2 separate regions of the Homo sapiens genome follow, and region 2 is linked to region 1. The links are contacts of gene promoters, found by promoter capture Hi-C in blood cells and fetal thymus (Javierre and others, 2016). All regions are on one chromosome and are shown on one strand. Each heading gives the region's core, a stretch centred on a gene start or on the middle of the fragment in contact. The rest is flanking DNA. Distances are from core to core; before and after follow the strand shown.

Region 1 (6,615 bases), core at 2,995-5,494:
GTGGGTATGTATCACTTTGCCCTCTGTGGTTTTCACTTTCTGAAATATCATAAACATTTTTCATATTTTGAGTCTTTCTAATCATTTTATCTTTTTGATGTCACAACATTAAACCTTTGTTATGATGTGGACTTTTAGGTCCCAACTTTTTGCTAATGGAAAACAGCAGCCATTAACGTCTTTGCATTTTTTGTTTCTATTATTTCTTATTAAACTTTTACCTGTGGAAATAAAGGGTTGAAAGATACAAGTATGTTTACGGTACTTGTCACATATTGCAATATTATTTTCCAAAAGATTGTGCCAACTTACACTGCCACCTGTAATAAATGAGTTGTGCCTCAACACTGTAAGCTTACCAGCAATGGATAACATTTATATATAGAGAAATGTACAGATAAAAAGGGGGAAAATGGTGGAACATAGTATCTCAGTCTCAGTTTGCTTTACTTTGTTTATAAGTTAAAAAAAAACCTTTAAACTTGCAAAACTGGTCCTGGACAGGAGAGAGGAAGTTTAAGACAAATTATGATTTTTTTGCATGATTAGATAACAGAGGTAGGTTTACAGTAAAGCTGCTGAAACTTAATCTCCAGGGCCTCTCATTTGCATATTGGCCACTTGCAAGGCTCTGGGAGATGTTCTAGCAATGGTTTTATGTTTTTGTAAACATTTGCAAAAGTAAGATATTTCATTTTATTTATTTGTTTATTTTAAGATAGTATTTGTCATATTTATTTGCTCCATTTATTCTAAAACAACCCTGGCTCCCTCCTTCATTCCCATCTAATCTACCCCAATCCTTTTTATTAATATTATTACTTAATTAATTGTTTATGTGAATGAGTTCTTTAGTGGTGATTTCTGAGATTTTGTTGCACCTATCACCTGAGCAGTGTACACTGTACCCAATGTGTAGTCTTTTATCCCTCACCTCCTTCTCACCTTTCCCAGAGTCCCCATTGTATCATTCTTATGATACAATGAGTCCATTGTATCATTCGTATGCCTTCGGATACTTGTAGCTTAGTTCCCACTTACGAGTAACACACAATGTTTGGCTTTCCATTCCTGAGTTACTTCACTTAGAATAATGGTCTCCAATTCCATCCAGGTTGCTGCGAATGTCTTTATTTCATTCCTTTTTACTGCTGAGTAGTATTCCATGGTGTGTGTGTGTGTGTGTGTGTGTGTGTGTGTGTGTGTGAGATATATACACACACACATATGTATATATACACATATCTCACTTTTTTTAACCTACTTGTTGATTAATGGGCATTTGGGCTGGTTCCATATATTTGCAATTATAAATTGTGCTGCTGTAAACATGCGCGTGCAAGTATCTATCATGTATAATGACTTCTTTTCCTCTGGGTAGATACCCAGGAGTGGGATTGCTGGATCAAATGGTAGATCTACAAAAGTAAGATATTTTAGCTGCAATCAGATATGACTACTTTCCACTTGGTGGTTTGCTGGTAAACCTTAAAAAAATAAAAAGCTCTGATTTGTACCACTTGCCAATTTCCAGGGTGTAAATATTCCCACCATGACTGATTTCAAGCTACCAACAGTTTAACATGGAGATTACAAAATACTGGAATATTTAACAATCAGCTCTTGAGAACCTCCAACTGTCCCTCTGATACACTTCGCTTCTTGCATAGTAGCAGTGAAATAGGCATAGGCATTTTGGGATTCCACTATGGGGAAATGGAGTTGATATTGCATTTAGTTTGGGCTTATTTCTTCTATTTATGTGGGTCGAAGGCACTTAACCCACATATATACTTAAGCCATATATACTTAAGTTATTGATAGACTTTTTTTTTTTTTTGAGACAGAGTCTCACTCTGTCACCCAGGCTGGAGTGCACTGGCACAATCTCGGCTCACTGCAACCTCTGCCTCCCGGGTTCAAGCTATTCTTCTGCCTCAGCCTCCCAAGTAGCTGGGACTACAGGCGCCTGTCACCACACCCGGCTAATTTTTGTATTTTTGGTAGAGATGGGGTTTCATCATATTGGTCAGGTTGGTCTTGAACTCCTGACCTCATGATCTGTCAGCTTCGGCCTGCCAAAGTGCTGGGATTACTGGCGTGAGCCACAGCGCCGGGCTGTTATTCATAGACTTCTTGGTGTAGGAATAGCTTCCAGGAATATTTCTACCCCAGTGTGATGACTTACCAGGAGTTTTGAACTGAAAGTGTAGGGCCAGAAGACATATCATGGTATGAAAGTGTCTGGCCTGGCATGGTGGCTCACACCTGTAATCCCAGCACTTTGGGAGGCTGAGATGAGTGGATCACCTGAGGTCAGGAGTTCAAGACCAGCCTGGACAACATGGTGAAACCCCATCTCTACTAAAAATACAAAAATTAGCCAGGTGTGGTGGCGGGCGCCTGTAATCCCAGCTACTCGGGAGGCTGAGGCAGTAGAGTCGCTTGAACCTGGGAGGTGGAGGTTGCAGTGAGCCGAGATGGTGCCACTGCATTCCAGCCTGGATGACAGAGCGAGACTCCATCTCAAAAAGAGAAAGTGTCCTACAGGTCTTTTCCCACAAAGTATGTGGGTCATTGTCTCAGTCTGTTCAGGCTGCTATAACAAAATACCACAAACTGGGTGGCTAATAAACAACAGGAATTTATTTTTCACAGTGCTGTAGGCTGGGAATTCCAAGATCAAGGTGCCGGCAGATTCAGTGTTTGGGGTAGGCCCACTTTTTGGTCCATAGATGGTGCCTTATTGCTCTGTTCTCACATGGAAGAAGGGGCAAGGCAGCTCTCTGGAGCCTCTTTTCCGAGGGCACTAATCCTATTCATGAGGGAGGGTTCCTGCTGATGACCTAATCACCTCCCAGAGGCCCTACCTCCTAACACCACCACACTGGTGATTAGGTTTCAACGCATACATTTTATGTGGAGAGAAACATTCAGACCACAGCAGTAGTGAAAGAGAAAAGAGGTTTGAAATGCCTAGAGTTATACCCGGGCATGTGGGAAGTAATCAGCTGTGAAATTGTTAAGGTAAGGATTTGGTTCTTATTAATGACTAGCCAACATGGTTCTCTCCTGGTTGGAAAAAGCTTGATAATAAAACTATAAAACTTCCATCAGTTTTTAAAAGGGAAGTGTAGGAATAAATCTGTCGTAGTACTTTAAATAGGAAGTTATGTCTAAGTGTAAATTACTACATGTTATGTATCACAACATATGGATCACATAACATGATATTAAATGATTATGAAGCTGAAAGACATTTTCTAAACAATCAGAAATTAAGAAACAAGTATTGATCAACCATGCTAGAAGACAGATTGAATTATCTTTATATCCTCTTTGGAGAAAATATTACAAAATTGTTGTCACATGAAGAAGGGATCAATAAGCATGTGGGCAATAATGTAGGAAAAAATACAAATGTGTGGCAGGCATTATTTAATAAAAATGTTATACCTTTTTGGAAAGAGATAACATGAGATGTACACATTACAGCCATTGTATCATACACAAAAATTGAATACCCTTTTTGTTTTTCATAACATTGAAATTTTGGAGTTCACGTCAGGTGTTTTGTAGATTGTCCTACATTTTGAATACATCTGATTGTTTCTTCATGGTTAGATTCAGGTTAGACATTTTTTGCAAGAAGACCATATAGGCGAAGTTTTTCCTTTTTCATACGCATTACATCAGGAGGCATATGAGATCAGATGGCCATTTATTGGTAATGCTACTTCTGGTTATTTGGTTAAGACGGAGCATATATCTTTAAGTTGTTAATCACACAGCCACTGTATCCAGACTGCTGAGAAGCAAACTATCAGGCAAAATTCAGGGCGCGCAGCAGGAGGCAGTCGCTTTCCCGGCTCTGGGGAAAACGATCCAACCACGCCCACTCTCCTGCCCGCCCGCGCCTCCTTTCCGGGAAAATGGGCTCTGAGAACCAGAGCGCCCTTTCTCCCACGCGCCCAAATCTTTTCCCATCAGCATGCGTGCGCTTGCGCAGTCTCCAGGCGGCTCCTTTCCAGCGCCCGACCGCTTCTTTCTCCTGCTCTCCTCCGGCTTCCCCTCAGCTCTAGCTTTTCCCTAAGGGGTCATCACAGGGCGCCAAACGCGCGTCCGCGGGAAGGCCGGGGGCGGAGCGCGGCGCGGCGCGGCACGTCAGTGGCCTTCCGGCCGGAAGTCCGCAGCCTCCCGAGCCGCTGATTGGCTTTCAGGCTGGCGCCTGTCTCGGCCCCCGCGCCAGTTTTGGGCTGGTTGGCGCGGAATCGGGAGATTCGGGACCATGGCACCTGTGCACGGCGACGACTGTGAGATAGGGGCGAGTGGTGAGGGACAATTCCGCGCGCGGGGCTCCGGGTTGGGACAGTGGCATGATTGCCGGTGGTGGGGGTTCTGAGGGAGGCGCACACCCGGGTTTGTTTGGGCGCAGACCTTGGTCGTCCCCGGCGGGGGCCCTTCTGGCGTCGGACCGGGCTTCCTTTAGGCGCGGTTTGCTCTTGGAGGACCAGAGCCTGGAGGGATTTTTGTTTGGGAGGCTGTCTCACCTCTGCCACTGAGAGTCTCCACAGTCGATTGCGTTTCTATTTCTTTTGGTGAGTTGCACCCACGTGCTGGGTATAACTTTATTGAGACTGGCCCCGTGGGGCCGAAAGTATTTCACTGCGATCTCCCTAAGTATCCACTTGAAGGCTTGAACAGAACAGATCTGTGTCCCTTTTTGTAGGAACTTCCAGGAAAATTTTATACATTGTAACTAAGCAGGAAAGAAAGCTCTAAGTGCTGTCATCGGGGAATAACGCGTTTTGTATTTTTAGGTAATGGGTTTCTACTTTATGCATTAACAATTTTTCTTTCAGATTCTTTGGAAAGTTCTTCAAGTGCTGCGTAGAAATCCTGTTCACAATCTAGTCATTCCTGGTGAAGTTTCAAAAAAATGGCATCAATTTAGGGCATTTCGGATCCCCTGTATATCACTCCGTTTGTCAGGGGTGTCTTTTATTTCCAAAAATAGAATACAAAAATGCAAATAGATTTGTCTGATTTTTTAAGTGTTCAACTAAAGCGTGACTTCAGTTAACTTCTAACTTAAAATCAGATGCTTCACTTTGTTAGCTCAAGCGTCACCTCTCCTGTCATTCAGATACATCACCATTAATGAGAACTCGCTTCCTAATCAGCTTCCTTTGCATTCACCTAGTTGTGAGTCACAGATTTCAATTTGTTCTAGCCGTTCGTTTTTTAAGACTATTTTGGAGAGTCGACCTGCCTGGATTACAGATAGGATGTTGGGTGTAAGTATGTGAACGAACAGTCTTTGCAGGCCTCTATCAGTGATTTGCCACTAAGCCCTTTCTTCATCCTAAAAACTACGTCATCTATGAACATCAGGAAATCACTTTGGAGGATACTGTGCAATCTTGAGACTCCTCTTAGGTCATGGTGTTCATTAAGTAGTTGCTGGGGACTTGTGACTGGAATTTTTCCTTTAGAGCAGACTGAAGGATTGTTACCTGAAAGACTGCTGTAAGCTAGTGTCTGTCTGCTTTTGGGGAGGATAGAGATACTCCAGATGGTAATTTTGAAACAAATATTTAAACCTTTGTAGCTGGATTTTTTTCATGCTTATTCTTTTTTTGCTAAGTTACCTACGTGAAGCATTGGAGACATACTCCAAAAAACAAAATGTAGGCTTTTTTTTTTCTTCAGTATTAGCAGGCAGGGCACCTTGATAATGGCAGTGAAAAGTTGAAAGGTCTGTAACTAGCTGTTACTATATATGAAAAAAGATCAGGGAATTTTTATTTATTTATTTATTTTTGAGACAAAGCTTCCCTCTTGTTGCCCAGACTGGAGTGCAGTGACGTGATCTCAGCTGGCTGCAACCTCTGCCTCCTGGGTTCAAGCAGTTCTGCCTCAGCCTCCCGAGTTGCTGGGATTACAGGTGCCCACCACCACACCGGCTAATTTTTTGTATTTTCAGTAGAGACAGGGTTTCACCATGTTGGCCAGGCTGGTCTTGAACTCCTGATGTCAGGTGATCCACCTGTCTCTTCCTCCCAAAGTGATGAGATTACAGGCATGAGCCACTGCGCCCGGCCAGGGAAAGTTTAATGATCAAAAAAGCAGGTACAGTGGTTCATTCATTGGTTCATTCAGCAAATATTTATTATATACCTACTAGGTATAAGCCTTCTGCCAGGCTCTGGCATTATGATGGTGGGTAGGCTGGACATGGTTTGTCTTCATGAAGTACAGATGGTAAACATCTAATCATATGCAGAAAACGGCTTTGCTTTGTTTTTGCCTTCTAAAGCTAGACCTTGGTACTCTTAGGTATGGTGTGTGTGGGGTATGTGGATGTGTGTTTGACTTCACACGCGGAAGCGTTACATGAGCCGCTCCTATATTGCTAAGTGCAAAGTAAGATAGGCATCTTCATGTAATCCTTAACAGATTTTGAAGCAGACATGATTATCCCCATTTCACAGATGTGGACCCTGAGGCTCTGCATCAGTCAGAGCCCCTATCTGTAAGCTGCAGGAACCAACTCTACCAGATTGGTTAGAATTTGTTAGAAGAATATTGTGTTCACAGAAACTCCAGGAGGAC
Region 2 (3,952 bases), core at 1,453-3,952, 1.0 Mb before region 1:
AGAGGAGAGGCCCCGGACTCGCGAAGAGGAGTGCCACTTCTACGCGGGTGGACAAGTGTACCCGGGAGAGGCATCCCGGGTATCGGTCGCCGACCACTCCCTGCACCTAAGCAAAGCGAAGAGTAGGTGGTGTCCCGCCAAAGGGTGGGAGGGGAGATTCCGGAGACACGTGTACCCCGGTTACACCCCCGGAATCTGGGCTTGGGCGGCACCCCCTGGGCTGCCTCCGGGCCCTGGGCGGGCCTGGTTCTCACCTAGGAGGGCGGGGAGGGGAATAAAGGGGAGTTCTAGCTGTGAAGAAAGGTATGGTTTCCACTGATCAGATTTTAGAAGAGGTAGTGGTTACCCCAAAAGCCGCAGCTGAGGGAAAGTGGGTGGCCCTAGTCCCGAGTTTGCATCGAGGATGTTGGGCAAACTGAAACAGTTCCTGAAACATCTCAAAGTGCCTTCAGCACATCCTGTCTTTTTCAGGTACTATTTCAGCGAAGGAAGACATTGATAGGTTGAATAATGATTCACAAAAAGTTTGATTAAACAGAAAAGTTGCTAAACACAGTGCTCGGGAGGTCAAACATTTCATTTTTCTTTCTTCCTTTTTGTTTGCATCTTACAAAGATTATTACTGAAAGCCACCTTCCCCAAAGCCTGTGTAGTTAATGGATATTCCTTATGTTTCTCAGACATGAAGAACCTATTACAGAGTGTACTTTTGAGGGAAATGGGGGAAAAGGTTAGAAGTATGCATTTGGGTTGATGATAAACCTCGTGGCAAATTTGTGTCCTGCCAATTTGGTTTTTGATTATTTGCATTTCTGTCCAGTGTACAAAGCTAATGGCCACTTTCAGGAATGACACGTCAGACGAAGTAGATACTGTGAAAGTTGTAGCCTGCTACATCTGGATGTTAAAATTAACCAAAAGTGAACAGTGGCTATAGATAAAGGCTGTCTCTTGCTTGCTATTCAGTAACCTGCTTTTCCTGCAGATCATTTGACATTCTGTAGGTGTGTAGTTGGTTTTTATGGTTCAGTTACAGCATGTTCCATGCCAGTATTCAGTGAAAAAAGTAATGCTTCAAATTCTGAATCCCTAGAGTTAAATGGAATGTTGTTATGACTTAGGATGGGTTGGTTGGGAGTGATAAATGAGAAAAACTGTTTTGTCCTCTTAAACATTTACAGTTCTTACTTGCTGAAAGTAAGTACTTTCAGTTAACCACTTTGGGACTTTTTTTTTTTTTTTATTTGAGATGAAGTCTTGCTCTGTCACCCAGGCACCCAGGCTGGAGTGCGGTCGCGCGATCTCGGCTCACTGCAACCTCCGCCGCCCGGGTTCAAGCGATTCTTCTGCCTCAGCCTCCCAGGTAGCTGGGACTACAGGCGCGCACCACCACACCCGGCTATTTTTTGTATTTTTAGTAGAGACGGGGTTTCACTATATTGGCCAGGCTGGTCTGGAACTCCTGACCTCATGATCCGCCTGCCTTGGCCTCCCAAAGTGCTGAGATTACAGGCGTGAGCCACGGTGCCCAGCCTACTTTGAGATTTTTAACAAAACCAGTCTTAAATTTTAAAATCAGTATTTCCAAGTCCCACTGGTTTTACTTGCCTGGGAAAGTATTTTAAATATGTCAGCCAGTTAAGTGTTTACTTACATTACATATATTTTCCATAGGAAACAAATCTACTTCAAAGCTTTCCCTTTACCAGCAAAACTTAACATTTTAGTTGTTTACTACATTTCTCTGTCACATGTAGGCTTATCTATAATTAAAGATACAAAGACTTTTGTTAGTAAAGACTATTATGGAGCCATTAAGGCCATATTTTCAAATAATTTTTAGTAATATCAAAAACTGTTCATAATTAATTTACTGTTTCCTTTAAGGAGAAAAAAAAGGCGGGATGCAACACGTGGCAAATTTGTGTTTAAAAAAGAACGGAAAGGCCAGGTGTGGTGGCTCACGTCTATAATTTCAGCACTTTGGGAGGCCGAGGCCATCCGATCACCTGAGGTCGGGAGTTCGAGACCAGACTGGCCAGCATGGTGAAACCCTGTGTCTACTAAAAATACAAAAATTAGCCGGGTGTGATGGCGCATACCTGTAATCCCAGCTACTGGGCAGGCTGAGGCAAGAGAATCCCTTGAACCCGGGAGGCGGAAGTTGCAGTGAGCCCAGATCACACCACTGCACTCCAGCCTGGGCGACAGACTGAGACTCTTGTCTCAAAAAAAAAAAAAGTAAATAACTAAAATTAAAAAAAATAAGACTAGAAAGACAGACATCAGAATGTTAACAGTAGTTGATGGGAGTTATGGAGAGAGAGGATTTAAGTATTCTTTGTACTTCTCTGCATTTACCAGAATCTTTATGTTAATTACATAATTTATATTCAAGACAATTTTTGTTTTTTTAATAAATGCAAGGGATTGCTTTGGGAATTCCATTTATAGATCTTAGCAAAGTAACTACCATTCTTAACCAAATATTTCCAAAATCAATTTTCAGAACAAAATTTATTTTTCAAATATGGTTTTCCCAGTATGCTAAAATCATTAAGGCGTGTCATTGTAATAGATCATTACAATTATTATAACCTCTCACTTGAGTAGCATTTTAAGTAATTTATTTAAAGTATATATAATTGAATACTCTTCTGCTGTCTATTTCTCCCTCCTGGCCTTTACCTAATCAGATCAGGATTATATATATGAGGTAGGATGCTGGCTCAAGATAAGTAATCATATGTTATATATTAATTTTTAAGAGAAATTCATGTTGTTTGTCTCTATTTTGGAGTGACCATAAATGGTGGCTGTTACAGAGAAGTATAAGCCTTACTTTCTAGGACCCTTAGCCAAACTTAGAAGCAAGCATTGACTTCAGTGTTTGTAAGGGGTCTGAAAGTATAAGTGCTATCTGAATGTGTTAACAGAGCATGAAGGTGCATTAGTATCTAAGTGTGTTGGCTAAAATTACTGTACGCCCTTACAAGAGAGCAGCATGAACTGTTCAGTTTCCATTGGGTCACTTGAAACCTGTTCAAGGGAGTCTTCTTTCAAAGCCCTCTAGGAAAATGATCCCATGGTCTGGGATTTTACACTTCTGGCCTGACATATTTGTACATTCCCTCCTCATTTTGTGTAGCCTCATCTGCAGCAGGTCCTCCATGTGTATGTCAGAAGCTGGACAAACTAGTACATCTGGAAGACTGCCATTAGAGAAAGGAAAATCTAATTATTTGAAATGTAGGAAGTTGACAACTTGAAGCGGGACTATAGTGAAGTATCCAGGAGGGTTTAGTGCAGGGTAGAATTTAAGGGGTCTGTGAGCATGAATAGGGGAAAAAAGTATTTATTTTCACTAATCCCCATCTGAAATTTAGTGTTTCCTTCTATTATGAATGTCAGCAACAAACTACACTATCTTCAGCAGCACTTGCTTGTACCTTTCACCAATAGAATCACTTATTTTCTTGCTACATATGGTTATCGCAGGTATCCTGAAACACCATTTTCACTCATCATTATCTTACGTAGTTGTCAGATTACAACTAGATCTTGCAGTTTTGAAGTGTTATAGAGCACATGTATTATGATATCACCAATTTTTTTTAATATTTTTATAATTGCATTTAAATACAATTGGTTTCTTTTGTAATTCTATGTATTTTCCTTTTTGCATTCAATAACACTCTTTTAAGAAGTCTGTAAGCTTCACCAGACTGCCAAAGAGATCTAAAGGTAGCCCTGATTTTTAGTGATTTTCTAAAGATGTCCTTCTACCATTCCACCAACTTTCTCAGTGTTACAGAACATCATGTATTTTATTTTCTTAGTTTCCAAGCCAGCGCCCTACTGGGAAGGAACAGCTGTGATCGATGGAGAATTTAAGGAGCTGAAGTTAACTGATTATCGTGGGAAATACTTGGTTTTCTTCTTCTACCCACTT

The links. Contacts are between HindIII fragments. The CHiCAGO score rates a contact against its expected background, and 5 or more counts as called.
Region 2: a contact is called between a fragment that was not itself captured here and the fragment with the promoter of POLA1 in region 1, in 1 of 17 cell types (fetal thymus). The highest score is 5.7, in fetal thymus.

What each region holds. Positions count from the first base shown.
Region 1 is chrX:24,689,674-24,696,288 of GRCh38, forward strand. POLA1 (DNA polymerase alpha 1, catalytic subunit) reads left to right here and starts at 4,245. Exons shown (of 37, transcript NM_001330360.2): 1 at 4,245-4,331. The coding sequence starts at 4,289. RefSeq lists enhancers at 2,214-2,714, 4,417-4,506 and a silencer at 4,067-4,226. The HindIII fragment of the contact is 2,747 bases long and covers 3,085-5,831 here.
Region 2 is chrX:23,667,690-23,671,641 of GRCh38, forward strand. PRDX4 (peroxiredoxin 4) reads left to right here. Exons shown (of 7, transcript NM_006406.2): 1 at 1-122; 2 at 3,840-3,952. Among named protein-coding and RNA genes, the nearest start is that of PRDX4, 2.2 kb to the left of the region's middle. RefSeq lists a silencer at 137-266. The HindIII fragment of the contact is 2,021 bases long and covers 1,693-3,713 here.